Linked DNA regions of Homo sapiens: all the other regions are linked to region 3. The links are contacts of gene promoters, found by promoter capture Hi-C in blood cells and fetal thymus (Javierre and others, 2016). All regions are on one chromosome and are shown on one strand. Each heading gives the region's core, a stretch centred on a gene start or on the middle of the fragment in contact. The rest is flanking DNA. Distances are from core to core; before and after follow the strand shown.

Region 1 (4,636 bases), core at 1,753-4,252, 83 kb after region 3:
CAAGTCCCTGATATGAAATGGCATAGTATTTGCATATAACCTAAGCACATCCTCCCACATATTTTAAATCATCTCAAGATTACTTATAATACCTAATACAAGGTAATAGCTCTGTAACAGTTGTTGTACTGTATTGTTAAGGGAATAATGGCAAGGAAAAAACATCTGAACATGTTCAGTAATGATGCTCTTTTCCCAACCCAATATTCTTGATCTGTGGTTGGTTGAATCCCCAGATGAGGAACCCACAGATACAGATGGTCAACTGTACTATTAGTATGGTTCAAATAAATTTAAATCATGCTTTCAACATATGAAATTTGTTATTCTGTGACACTCTGGTAATGTATCTTCTCTTTGTCCCCAAGGTTCTGCTAAACCAGCAACAAAAAAATGGGGTGGGAGTCGGGAAGCAAGCAGAGAAATGGGAGCTGGTTTTAAAAGAACTGATTAATTGGCCGGGCGCGGTGTCTCGTGCCTGTAATCCCAGCACTTTGGGAGGCCAAGGTGGGTGGATCACTTGAGGTCAGGAGTCCGAGACCAGCCTGGCCAACATGGTGAAACCCCATCTCTACTAAAAATACAAAAATAAGCTGGGCATGGTGGCACGTGCCTGTAATCCTAGCTACTGGGGAGGCTGAGGCACGAGAATCACTTCAACCTGGAAGGCAGAGGTTGCAGTGAGCCGAGATCATGCCACATGCCACTGTACTCCAGCCTGGGCAATAGAGTAAGACTCCATCTTAAAAAAAAAAAAAAAAGAATTGGTTAATAATCATGGACAAAAGAGAGAGAGATACAACCTAACCATCCAAAAATAGGTCACCAGTTCAAAAAGTCTTCACACAATATACTTGGAGTATTATGTAGCCACCAAAAACCATCTTAGAGAGTAGTTAATGATACATAGGGATGATCATGAACTGTTGAAAAGACTATAAAACCAAAATGACAATCTCTAATCAGTACTATAGGCATAATTTGCATTTTATTTTATCCATCTGTAATTTCTAAATTTTCTCTAATGAACATGTATTGTCTATATAATCATGTTATCTAAGAAAAAATACAGGTTTTTGGATTGCTTTTTTTCCTTTTAATGACTAACCTATGTAGACAGAAAGTCAGGAGAAGGCAGAAGGGTCAGCCTGCTCCTTTGGTGTTGCTGGCTTTGTCAGTGGCTTTGTCAGCTGTGGGCTTGGCTGTCCAAGGGAGGGAGATGTAAGCCATCCATCTTATCCACGTCTCATTGTTTATGTCCAAAATACATTCTCCCTGGAGATTCTAGATCGAGCACCTGCAAAGACTCAGATCTCATACCCAGTTTCCTGACCTCCCCAAATAGGTTTCTAGGTCCCTAATAGGCATTAAAAATACGTAATTATTTCTGGAGCTGTTCAACTAACCCAAATAACATGCTCTCATTCCATGTCCCCAAATTTCCCTTCTTGAAATATAAATTATTGACCTACTTTGTTAAAGACCATTTTAATGGCACTCTCCCACCCCAATGATAAAAATGAGACACTTGACACTGTCATCAGGTCCCATTAGAGAGGTAGAAAATAAGCCACTAAATGTTACCCATCAGAACGGCTAAGCAGTGAGCCAGAAGTTCTGTGCCCACCCTGGTTCTGAGCACATCCTCTCACTCTGAAATGTAACACAGGAAGTATAACAGGAAAGGGAGCCCTAGACAGTGCTGTTCACCTAGATGAGACCACTCACAGTCCGACTAAGAGTTCTCTAGAACCAGAATGTCTTAGTCACCTCAAAGCTGAGAGTCATTTTAGCTATAATTATAGAAATCCAAGCCGGACGCAGTGGCTCATGCCTGTAATCTCAGCACTTTGGGAGGCCAAGGCGGGCAGATCACGAGGTCAGGAGTTCAAGACCAGCCTGGCCAACATGGTGAAACCCCGTCTCTACTAAAAATACAAAAATTAGCCGGCTGTGGTAGCATGTGCCTATAATCCCAGCTACTCGGGAGGCTGAGGCAGGAGAATTGCTTCAGCCCGGGAGGCGGAGGTTGCAGTGAGCCAAGATCATGCCACTGCATAGAGCAAGACTCCATCTCAAAAAAAAAAAAAAAAAAAAAAAAATTCTAGAACTCCAGAAATCTGTTTCACGTCATTTCCATTTACCAAAGGCTTTGTTTTCTCCATAACTGAGATATCAGGGATGAATCCCAGCTACTCAGGAGGCTAAGGTGGGAAGATCATTTGAGGCCAGGAATTTGAGACCAGCCTGAGCAACACAGCAAGATCCTATCTCTAAAAACACTTTTTTAAACTTAGCTGAGCATGGTAGCATGCTCCTCTAGTCCCAGCTACTCAGGAAAATGAGGTGGGAGGAACACTTGAGTCCAGGAGTCCGAGGCTGCAGTGAGCTATGATCACACCACTGCATTCCAGCCTGGGTGATAAAGGAAGACCCCAACTCTTAAAGAAATTAACTTTTTAAAAAATGTATTAGGGCCAAACACCATGGCTTACACCTGTAATCCCAGCACTTTGGGAGGCCAAGGCAGGAGGATCACTTGAGGCCAGGAGTTCTAGACCAGCTGGGCAACACACTGAGACCCCCATCGCTACAAAAAAAAAAAAAAATGTTTTTTAATTAGCCAGGCATAGTGGCAAAAGCCAGTAGTTCTGGCTACTTGGGAGGCTGAGGTGGGAGGATTGCTTGTGCCCAGAAGTCTGAGGGTACAGTGAGCTATGACTGTACTACCACACTGGGTGACAAGACAAGACTCTGTCTATTTAAAAAAAAAAAAAAATACCAGGGATCAGTCACCTCCCTGGTCCTTTGGCAAGGCAAGAGAGAGATGGTAGAAGGCCAGACACAGTGAACAAATGATGGGGGTGTGTGGGGAAAGGTGAAGGGAAAGAAAAAGAAGGGAGGAAAGCAAATGAGAGAAAGAGAAAACATACAGATGGTAGAAAACACGCTTTCTACATTTGGACTGGAATTTCCTAGAACAATGCAAGGTTGCTAGTGAAGAAGAAGGGCTTTCCTGTTAAGACCACTGACACCCCCAAACATCACCATTTCAGCATATAAAAAGTTTACTTTTGTCAATAGTCCCTAAAATGGTTAAAGCTGAAACCCTGAAGTGCAACCAGCCAAATCAGGATAGTACTGGCAATTTTTTTCCTCTGTAGAAATGAAGGAATGCATCTACCTACTGGATTTGGGGTACCCATTCTCAAGCAGAAATAACACGCTCTCGTTCCAATTACTCTCTCTAAAGCAAGATCAACACCAAGGGACAGACAAGACAAAAGAAGTGTGAAACCAGAGGCCTAAAGGCCCCCTCGGCAGTGAGTGTGCATTAGTCAGGTTGCACTAGTAAATCTGTCAGAGGACAAGAATGTGTGAAGAGCAAGAACAGTGCCAGGTCGGAACATCCTGGTGTTGGAACTGCAGCATTCTGAGGAGCTGCAAATTGTTTGGATGCACTGAAGGAAAAGGGTATGTGGCTTCACAAGATCAAGAGACGAAGCAGATAGGAGAGTGCCACACTTGGAGACATGAGTTAAAAATCCTAAGGAATCCCGGCACTTTGGGAGGCCGAGGTGGGCGGATCACGAGATCAGGAGATCGACACCATCCTGGCTAACACAGTGAAACCCTGTCTCTACTAAAAATACAAAAAATTAGCCGGGCATGGTGGTGGGCGCCTGTAGACCCAGCTACTTGGGAGGCTGAGGCAAGAGAATGGCATGAACTCAGGAGGGAGGCGGAGCTTGCAGTGAGCCGAGATCGCGCCACTGCACTCCAGCCTGGACAACAGAGCAAGACTCCATCTCAAAAAAAAAAAAAAAAAAAAATCCTAAGGAAGTGGTTGCCTAGGGATGAGAGGTAGGGATGGAAAGAATGGCAGATATTAGCTAAGGACTACAGGATTGCTTTGGGGGAATGATGAAAATATGCTAATATTAATCGTGAAGATGAATGCAAAATCCTGTGCATATACTAAAAGCCATTGAATTGTATGCTGCAAATGGGTAAATTGTGTCGTGTGAATTGTATCTCAAAAAAGCTGTTTTTAAAAAACATCGTCCATGGTCTCTGCCTACCATCGCCTACCCCCATGCTGCCCATTTGGGGAGCTCAGTAATATGGCTGATTGAGACGGCACATTAAGAGATATGAGTCATCCTTCTCCAGTTTGACATTTTACAAGTTTCTTGCTTAACCATCAAAAAACAAATTGTCTTTCTTAAAGAGACTCAGTTTAGGGGCAGTAAGGATTAGACTCCTTAGGAAAACAAGCAAAATTTAAGTTATCTTCAACTGGTGATCATCTTCATGTACAAATTACGTACGGTTTCAAGCACAAAATCCCAAGCAAGCCCCACTGGGCTGTGTCTTTTCCTTGCAGTATGGTATGAAGTTAAGCTGGCCAGGAGAGGTGGGGGAGATGAGAAGCAAGCCAAAGTTATATCCCAAAAGACACAGAGGCCAAAAGCTATCAGTTCCACTCCAATTTCCTATGCAATGGAGCAGAGCTTCCCTGCTGGGGAACCGATTACAAGCATGCTGGCTACGTAAGAGGAAACAGGCTTTCTTTCCAGAGAGAAACCCATCTTGCTGCTCTAAACAGAGCTGGCAGCATGGTAGTCTGCTGACC
Region 2 (4,754 bases), core at 2,053-4,552, 110 kb after region 3:
GTTGTCTTTCTCTTCCCAGAAAATCTGCTCATAAGGGTAGAGATTTTGTATTATTCAATGCAGCAACCCCAGCTTAGAACAGCAATTGGAACTTCAAAGGTGCTGAACATCAATGAGCCGGACACATGTTTAATAAGAAAGAAACAGGACTCATGTGACAACATCAGTTATGGCCATGCACATAAATAGAAGAGAACAGTTAAGCCGCAGAAATCACTTTCATATGAAATAGAGAAACAATTTAGGCAACATTTGGCCTAAATCCTTTGGATGAATGTCTGAATTCCTTAAAATTAGCAATTAGTTCAAACAGTTCTGCTTTCAGTATCAGTATATTTTAAATCTACATTTTTTCTGGCCTCAATGGTCCAAATAACTTTACACCTGCCATGCAATTACCTCCCATTTGTAGAAACTTTACCACTGGCAAAGCACTCCCATGTACATTGTCTCTGAGTCCATATAATCAGAAGTGGGCATGGACCAGTCACACATTGGTTCCTGAACACCAGCTTGTGAACAGATCTGATCCGTGATGAAGCATTCATGGGTCCTTATGTAACTGAGAAGTTCAGGGGTAGATCCAGCTTCAAGGCAGCCTCTGGGGATCTAGAAGATGATAACAGCACAGGTTTCTCTCTCCATCCCCAAGCTGACCTTTGTCTGTGGTGGCTTCAGTCTCAGTGACTCTCTCAGCTTCTCCAAATTACGCCCAGCAATATTAGCAGGAAGAGAGTTTTCTAAGAATTCCAATAGAAATGACAAGACTGGAGTCAAGGATAAAACAGCCCCACTCCAAAAACGTAAAGTACTGGGGTGAAGTTGTTCCACTAAAGGACAAGCACAGCGCATTTAACAGGGAAAACGGGGATCACTGCTGCACAGGCAGAAGCAATAATGTATAGTGCATTTGACCTGTCCCCAACTCCCTCACAATGAATGCGCCTCCTGCCACATTCTCATGGCCCCATAATTCTAGTTAGCACTTATTCATGCTTTTTTATGGTTGATGCCATATTTTGTGCTGCACAGTGACTTCTCCTTTTTATTATTACTAGACAAGATACCAGTTTTCCTATTTTAAAATAACAATTTAAGGTTGATGTAAATGTTCTATATCTCAGTTAGGGTGGTAGTTACACAGGCATTGCATTTGTCAAAACTCATGGGTGCGTTTTATTGTGTGTAAACCTCATTAAAGGTTGATTTTAAAAAATAATGATGATGGGCCTGGCGCGGTGGCTCATGCTTGTAATCCCAGCACTGTGGGAGGCCAAGGAGGGTGGATCACGAGGTCAGGAGATCGAGACTATCCTGGCTAACATGGTGAAAACCCGTCTCTACTAAAAATACAAAAAATTGTCTGGGCGTAGTGGCACGCGTCTGTAATCCCAGCTACTCGGAAGGCTGAGGCAGGAGAATCGCTTGAACCTGGGAGGCAGAGGTTGCAGTGAGCCAATATCGCACCACTGCACTCCAGCCTGGGCAACAAAATGAGACTCTGTCTCAAAAATAATAATAATAATAAAATAATGATGATGGCAGTGATGCTGATATTTATTAAGCTTTTGCTATGTAACGGGATCTGTGCTAAGCACTCTATTACATTTCTTTATTTAATGTTTACTACAATCCTGAGAATTAGATGCTGCTACCATCCCCATTTTACAGGTAAGGAAACTAAAGCTTAGAGAAGTAAGATGCCTAATGTAGTTACTGATAGAGCTAGACTTAGAATTCAAATCTATCTGGCTTAAATAACTACATCCATATAAAATATCTATAGAAATACATTTTATATGTCTAAAAACATTGTTAAATAATAATAGCCTAACACCTAAAACTTGAATGAGATCACATATGAATGACAGAGGAGCGATTTCATTATCGCTCCTTATGAGCTGTATGTGGTTTTCCAGGGCTTGTTGCTGGTATGTCCCAAATATGTCAATAATTATACAAGCCTCTAATTTGCTTTAGCTTTAAATCACAGGCCCTACAATTTATGTAGAAGCAGTTGATTGAAACAGACATAAAATTCTCAGTTTCCTTAAAGAAAAAAGAATAATCTATCCTCATAAAGCCACTGGCTCATAGTTCTTTAAGGGAGGTAGCAGCACCTATTTAACATTCTTTGGCTCAAGAAATTAGTGAAACTCATAGCATTTGTTCTACACAAGTTTTACATGTTAGCAATACTTTTATTTTCAGTTTTCATGATTTATTTCATGCTTGCCACTTTTCTACCTAATATTCACTCTTTACCTTACTCATTTATTGAAAGTGCTTATATAACATTTACTGTATACCAGATACAGTTCTAAACACTTTAAAAATATTAACTCAATTAATACTTAGCAACCCTATTATTATCTTATCTCCCTTTACAGGGGAGGCAAGTGAAATGAATCACCTAAAATCATATAACTAATGAGTGGCAGAGCTGAGATTCTCAAAAGGTAGTCTAGCTCCAGACTTAGGTTACGTTTCTAGCAGAACCCCAATGTGCCCAACTAAAGAATTTAATTTCTTAGGTTTTCACACAGCTGGTGGTGGCCATGTGCCACTTTTCTGACCACTGAGATACACTTGGAAGTGTATTGGCTGGGGCTTTGGAAAGGTTTGTGTGTTTTTTTGTTCTTGTTGTTTTTTTAATAAAGAGACAACTGCTGACACACACCTTCTGCTTACTTCATTTCCCTATTCTTTTTGTCTTGAATGTGGATGCAATGCATGGAGCAGCAGCAGCCATCTTGCAGTCATGAAGATGAATATCACATGCTAAGGATGGCTGGATGGGAAAACAGAGGGAGCCAGGTAGCTTGGTGACACCCACGAGCCACAATACCCATCTCCAGAGTACCCACCTCCCAACTACTCATCACATAAAGAGGGAAAAAACAACCTATTTGTTTAAGCTACATTAATGGGGTTTCCTGTTACTCAAAGTCAAAACTACTCTAGTTGATATAATGCATTAATTATAAAACCTATTGTTTCACCTCCTCTTGGATTTTCAGCAGCTGCATTAATCCATGGTTCTTAGGCAGTTTTCACATTAGAAAATCATAGTTTTAAGGATGATTTCTTAAACATTAAAAGATGATATCTGCATTTACAGGGCAGGAATATGTATTAAATGAGGAAAAGTATTTAAGCAAAAGGACACTCTATTGATAAAAATAAACTGTTCAAAAGCTGATATGAAACCAGAAAACTATCAAAGACAATTTCAACAGAGACCCAGAATTATCTGGGTCAATAAAAATAATTGGCCTATTCTTCTATAATTGTTGGTGCTAAAATGACCAAATAAATTAGTTCACTTCAGTAACCTAAACTCAAGCATTCCTATGTGCCTTGCTCTCTTTCTTGCCTCTGAATCTTATACATGAGTATATGCTTTAAATGGACAATAGCATATTATAGATCCTGAGAAATCCTGTGTTAAGTAATCCTTGAGATTTTGCTTAACCAAGTATTTCTCGTAGTTCTTTGAGCACAGAATCCTGTTTTTCCCCCAAACATTACATCCTATGCATAGTGTTCTATAAAATGCATTTAGGAGGGTGTGGTGGCTCACGCCTGTAATCCCAGCACTTTGGGAGGCTGAGGCAGGTGGATTACTTGAGATCGGGAGTTTGAGATCAGCCTGGCTAAGATAGTGAAATCCCCTCTCTATTAAAAATACAAAATTAGCTGGGCGTGGTGGCGCATGCCTGTAATCCCAGCTACTCAGGAGGCTGAGGCAGGAGAATTGCTTGAACTTGGGAGGCGGAGGTTGCAATGAGCCGGAATCACGCCACTGCACTCCAGCCTGGGTGACAGAGTGAGACTCCGCCTCAAAAAAAAAAAAAAAAAAATGCATTTAGGACATAAACACTAACATAGACTGCAGGAATAAGGACATATAAGATAAAGCGATAATTTCTAGTCTTCTGTCATTTTAGTTATTGCAAAATAGGAAGTCTGTCATGAAGCATTAGCAAACTTTCTAAAGCAAGTGGGAAACTATCACTTCCCAACTTCGAATCCTTATTGATGGATGGGCTTTTCATCCATGGGAATTCACATTTCTTTTGATGGCTCCGGTTTTGAGATGATGCTGTGGTTTTTAGTGAGTGCATGTGTTTGTTGAAGGTGGCTTAGTGGCAGTGAAGAGGGCAATATTTCAATAGATAAAGTATTCTGATCTTCTTTTCATCTATGGAGAAGCCAGGATGAAAAATCAATGCTAAAATGGATTATCCTCCATCTAAACACAGGGCGAATGGGATACAATGTCTGTTAGGGGAGAGTGAATATTGGCAGATTTCTTTACTTCCCCATTTTCCTTTGTATTTCTTTTCTGGAATTTCCCATCACTATATTTCTATTTTTGACTTTAAAAAGTTAGTAGCTGTTGGCCGGGCGCAGTGGCTCACACCCGTAATCCCAACACTTTGGGAGGCTGAAGCAGGTGGATCACGAGGTCAGGAGATCGAGACCATCCTGGCTAACATGGTAAAACCCCATCTCTACTAAAAATACAAAAAATTAGCCGGGCGTGGTGGTGGGCGCCTGTAGTCCCAGCTACTTGGGAGACTGAGGCAGGAGAATAGCGTGAACCCGGGAGGCTGAAGTTGCAGTGAGCCGAGATCGCGCCACTGCACTCCAGCTTGGGATACAGAGCGAGACTCCATCTCAAAAAAAAAAAAAAAAAAAAAAGCTACTAGCAGTTAAATTCTCAAACTAAAGCATTCTATCACTATAAA
Region 3 (4,915 bases), core at 1,746-4,245:
GAAGGCACTTGGGGTGGAGAAGGGGAACACAGGAGCCAACAGTCTCCGATCTCTCCCTCGTTCAGTCACTTTCACAGAATGGTCCTTACCAAAATGTCAAAAGATGTTGGCAGGGGACTCAGGCATCTGACAAAAATGGCCAGCCCAGGCTGAGGCTATCCCTCAGAACACAAATCACAAAAGGCAAGCCAGGAAGGAAACAGATGCACCCAAAAGCCAGAACACCGTGGGCAGGAAGGCAGGAGGAGGCTACAGGTAGACACAAGAAAAAAGGGAAAGAATAATATTTTAGAGTGGAAGACAATGTTCTGTTAGAGCCTCCAAATGTGTGTGCATCAAATGTGGGTGTGGTTATACACATTCCCATTTTAGTCAGAATGTTCCCTGATGAGAACGCACAAAGTCTGCACTAAGAGTAACACAGGTTTGCCTTTCTACCCACCCGACAATCCTGTGCCTCCCCCATAAGCAAGAGAAACTCAATCATCTCAACAAAGTGGAAACAGGTGAAATGCAAGCCAGGCTCGGGAAAGCTCCCAGCACACACCTGAAAAGCCGCACTGCCAAGGGCAGCTGCCAGGAGGATCAGGGAGTGGCTGGTCATGCACAACGGGGCCTTTGTGAGGCTTCTGCACAGGGGCACCCATTGAACCAGGGCAGGGCCTGTTAGCTTATGACCAGCAGGTGACCTGATTTCCTTGTCCACTGGCACAGAGCACACCCTGCCACAGTGCAAGCCTGAGAAGCAGTGAGGACCCCATGAAGCTGAAGGACAGGCCGATCCCCCGATAGACGATTAGGTAATGACTGCTGGTATGGAGTCAGTATTGGGCTTCAAGCCAATGAGGAAAGCTGGGTAGAGCGAGAATCCTGATGAATGGACCTGAAAAAGGAACTCACCTCAGGCTTGATAGAGGAATTTTTCAGTACAGCTAAAGTGGACACCTGTCCTTTTACTTGTTTGGAATCCATTCCCCAGACTTTGGGACAGCATCTCAAGCTTGTTTTGGAGAACCTCCCTTCTCCACTTGCATTCTATGGGGTGATGGTGACAGGGTGATCAACCCCAACCCCTTGCCCCCACCCCAATCCCACAGCTCCTGGGTTCAAGTTCCAGCTCCAACATAGATCAGATATGTAACCAACCCTGGGTTAGTCATAAAGTCTCAGTTATCTCATCTGACGGAGGCTGTCAGCCCGTGGGTTAGGCAGGGAGGATCCAGTGAGAAACACTGTATAGGCACTCTGCACATCACAAGACTCAGTTCTAGGTATAGCTGGGCTATTCTTTCCTCATATATGAATCCTCCAGTAAGAGGAACCAGGAAAGGTAAGCATGAATAACTGTTTGGAGCTCGGAGAAGTTAAAGGACTGACCTAAGAGTGCAAGGCCACTAAGGAGAGGACCTGTGACTTAAGTCCTGTGAACTGAGATCCTTGTAGTATGTGGGAACACCATACCACTTCACCCCATTAAGGTAAACCCTCTATGTTACTTGAGAGATTGAAAACAACACTAAAAAGAGAACTCTCTACCTAAAAACCATTGCTTCTTGCCAATTTCAATCCAGTAAGATTGGTGGTATCTTATGTAGATTTTCACCTTGGATATGGAGCAGCCCAAAGATTTATTTCAAGAGCTTTCCCTCTGATGCACACAGGAATCTAACACACACATTCCAATAAGAGGAGAGAGAAAAGAGAAGAGGCTGGCACTGGTGCTGGGTGCATGCCAAGCGTCGTGGCACCCTCCTCATATAACCCTGCTGTTTCATGTGCAGGCAGTGCAAGACACAGCAAGGAGCCAAGCAGAGTCAATAATATTTACTTTGCAGAAACATCTGTTGCTAGAAAAGCAGAATGCTGGCCAGAGTGGAGGGAAGTCATAACTGCCGGCATCTGGGGAGGCCAAGTATCTGCTTTCCAGAGTAGGTAGGGCTGTGCTTCTCTGAGTGAGGGGACCAGATGGCTAAGAAATATGGAAGCAGCTAGAAGTTTGGGCCTTGAGAGACTGCTCCCAGAGCCACCTGCTCACTCAGGGACTAGAGGAAGTGCCCTTCTTTTCTTGGAGATGCCAGCAGATATTAATCTGCACCGGATTTAAGAGAATTTAACCCAAATAGATCCAACTTTCACTAACACAGAAGGTTTACCATAATTTTTTAAAAATTAGAATCTACCTTAATTTTATACAAGTTGTACCAGTAATACCACAAGTCAAGCCATTTCCTTTTTCTCCTTGGGTAAAACTTAACATACATGTGCACACACAAACATGGACTCAGGTAACCTTACTACTGTATTTTCAGTGCATCTATTGCCTTTGTGACCTCCAAAGTTACCAAAATTGTGTATTAACTACCCTTGAAATGTTTTGCTGCTCAGTCACATCTTTCCCTTTGGACTTAGAAAGTGATTACAGTTCCGGGAGGCCAAGGCGGGTGGATCATGAGGTCAGGAGTTCGAGACCAGTCTGGCCAACATAGTGAAACCTCATCTCTACTAAAAATACAAAAAAAAATAAAATAAAATAGCCGGGTGTACTGGTGTGCACCTGTAATCCCAGCTACTCAGGGAGGCTGAGGCAGGAGAATCGCGTGAACCCGGGAGGCTGAGGCTGCAGTGAGCCGAGGTTGCACCATTGCACTCCAGCCTAGGCGACAGTGTGAGACGCTGTCTCAAAAAAAAAAAAAAAAGAAAAAAGAAAAAGAAAAAGAAAAGAAAAGAAAGTGATTACAGCTCAGAAAGGCCATCATTGAGGTTAGAACTTGCAACAGGATTGGCCTCATGGCTGCCTAAAGTTCAAGAATACCAAAGTCCCCGGGCCTTGTTAATCTCTTCCTTTCCTGGACGCCAGTTACTCTCTGTGCCTCATCACCTTGTATTTGGAATAATTCTGGAACTAGTCATGAATGGCTTCATGTCACAATGCACAAAGAGTGCCTCGGACAGGGCTGGACACAGTGTCCCTCCAAACCTGTTGTACGATGTGAGCGGGCAAGGAAACACAAGCTGGCTTACAGGTGGAATACCTGAGAGTCTCCAGAGAGGACCCATGACAGACAGCTGAGACATGGATGGACACGAGCCCCAGAGAGACTTCAGGTTTAGCCCACACCCCCATTCCTAGGTCAAACTCAACACACTCAAAACAAAACTCTCTCTACTCAAACACCCTCTGCCACCCTCTCCCCAGAGAGCCAGCCGAGGGCCTCTTCCTGCATCCCCAGTGTAACGAAGGGCACCACCATTCACCCTGCCGCACAAGTCACCAGTACATGTCATCCTCTCACACAGCAGGCTCCCTCATGTGCCATGTCCATTCCCAAGTCTCCTAAGCACATCTCAATTCTGCCCACTCCTTCCCATCACTATCAGCAACCCCTAAACAAAACACCTCCATTTGCCCAGATAACTGCAACTGCTCCTCTCTGGCCTCCCCACATCCACTTTTGTCCGTCAAATCAGTTCTCCACCCAGTTGTGTCAATACCAGCAGTGAGCCCTGTGATGGCTTCCCAGAGCTCTGGAGGTGAAGACGAAAGTCCCTCCCAAGGCCTGAGAGGCCCTGCAGGGTCTGGCCTCCCCACACCCCTCTCTGGGCTCCAGCTGCTCCAGCCTCTGCCAGTTCCCGGGGCATGCCCAACTCCTACCTGCCACCACATGCCACCTCTGCCTGCAGCCCTTGGCCCAAAAGTTCTTTCCTCCAGGAAGCCTTCCCTGACTTCTCTAATCAGGCCAAACCCAACCCTATTTCTCACTCTCTGAGTACTATACTATAGATCTTTTCTTCAGAGCAATTTTATATTTGTTCAGGTAATTCTTCTCTTCAAGTAATGCCTCCCCAACTAGTACATTCTATAAGGATGAGGATCATATCCCTTCATGCTCACCACTCTATCCCCAAAGCCCAACACTCTACTGCTTGACTGAGAGCAGGTATTGCAGAAAGAACAAAGAGAGAGGAAGTTGGGCACTCCATAAGTCCATTAGCCTTCATCAGAGGTGAACCTCCCAACTCAATGTTTGACATGTGAAAAAAAAAGCAGGTAAGTTAGGACAAACTCTCCAACTTATGTAAGTCTGGCTAGAGCCTGATATATATGTGGGAATGTGCTTCCTATTAGCATGTGACCACCTCCCTTCATGTTGTCCATTGAGGAAGAGTCCCACAGAGCTGGAGGGAGAGCTACCACCAGCAGGAGCATAAAATAAAACCTCACCTATACCAAGGAAGCTGGAGAAATGAGCTACATACAACCCAACTGCTGGCCACAACCAACTGTCCTCTCTTAGCCCCAGCACAAGCCCCAGGTTGCAGTTAAAATGGTTTAAGGAAGAGTCCCCAGAGATCGCTCTTTTCTTTCTCCCCGTATCTGGGAAAACTGAGAACATATCCAATCAGAAACTGTGCTTGGAGAGAGGCATTTCCAACGACTCCCCATTTCCCCAAGTCTGTATGTAGCAGTTTAAACCTAGTTCGATGTGCTTCATTATAAGAAAAGCAAGTTACAGTCCCTTGTAAATACCATTCTGCAGCCCAGACTCCTGGCATTGTACTAGCAAAAACAAACAAAACACACACACACACACACACACACACACACACACACACACCCTGTGCAAATCTTAGAATGAAACAAAATTCTCCATAGCATTTTTCTCGTTTCCGTGACACACGGTCTTACCTGTGGCCACTAGGTGGCAATCAACTATATCAGAGAACACCTTGACCAAGCAGCTAATTTAAACAACAGCTAAGACTCAAGGAGAAATGACAGGGCCAGCCTTAAAGGCAGTGCTGAGAACAGATCCTGTCCCACTGAGGAACAAATAACCACCTAGAAATGTCCAGTGGACACTCAGCAACTGAGAGAGGGGCCCTGGCTTCCACATTGGAAGAAGTGCTCTAACAC

The links. The method cuts DNA at HindIII sites, captures the fragments that hold promoters and counts their contacts. A CHiCAGO score of 5 or more calls a contact.
Region 1: a fragment that was not itself captured here is called in contact with the fragment with the promoter of ARHGAP26-AS1 in region 3 in 1 of 17 cell types (neutrophils); the score reaches 5.4 in neutrophils.
Region 2: a contact is called between a fragment that was not itself captured here and the fragment with the promoter of ARHGAP26-AS1 in region 3, in 13 of 17 cell types (neutrophils, endothelial precursors, total CD8 T cells and 10 more). The highest score is 9.5, in neutrophils.

Annotation. Positions count from the first base shown.
Region 1 is chr5:142,784,121-142,788,756 of GRCh38, reverse strand. The region is part of intron 1 of ARHGAP26 (Rho GTPase activating protein 26); the gene reads right to left. Among named protein-coding and RNA genes, the nearest start is that of ARHGAP26, 16 kb to the right of the region's middle. The HindIII fragment of the contact is 9,850 bases long and covers 1-4,636 here.
Region 2 is chr5:142,761,899-142,766,652 of GRCh38, reverse strand. No RefSeq gene overlaps it. Among named protein-coding and RNA genes, the nearest start is that of ARHGAP26, 6.1 kb to the left of the region's middle. The HindIII fragment of the contact is 3,227 bases long and covers 1,689-4,754 here.
Region 3 is chr5:142,866,990-142,871,904 of GRCh38, reverse strand. ARHGAP26-AS1 (ARHGAP26 antisense RNA 1) reads left to right here and starts at 2,995. Exons shown (of 6, transcript NR_046680.1): 1 at 2,995-3,105; 2 at 3,816-4,048. The region is part of intron 1 of ARHGAP26 (Rho GTPase activating protein 26); the gene reads right to left. RefSeq lists a silencer at 4,587-4,881. The HindIII fragment of the contact is 5,262 bases long and covers 1,003-4,915 here.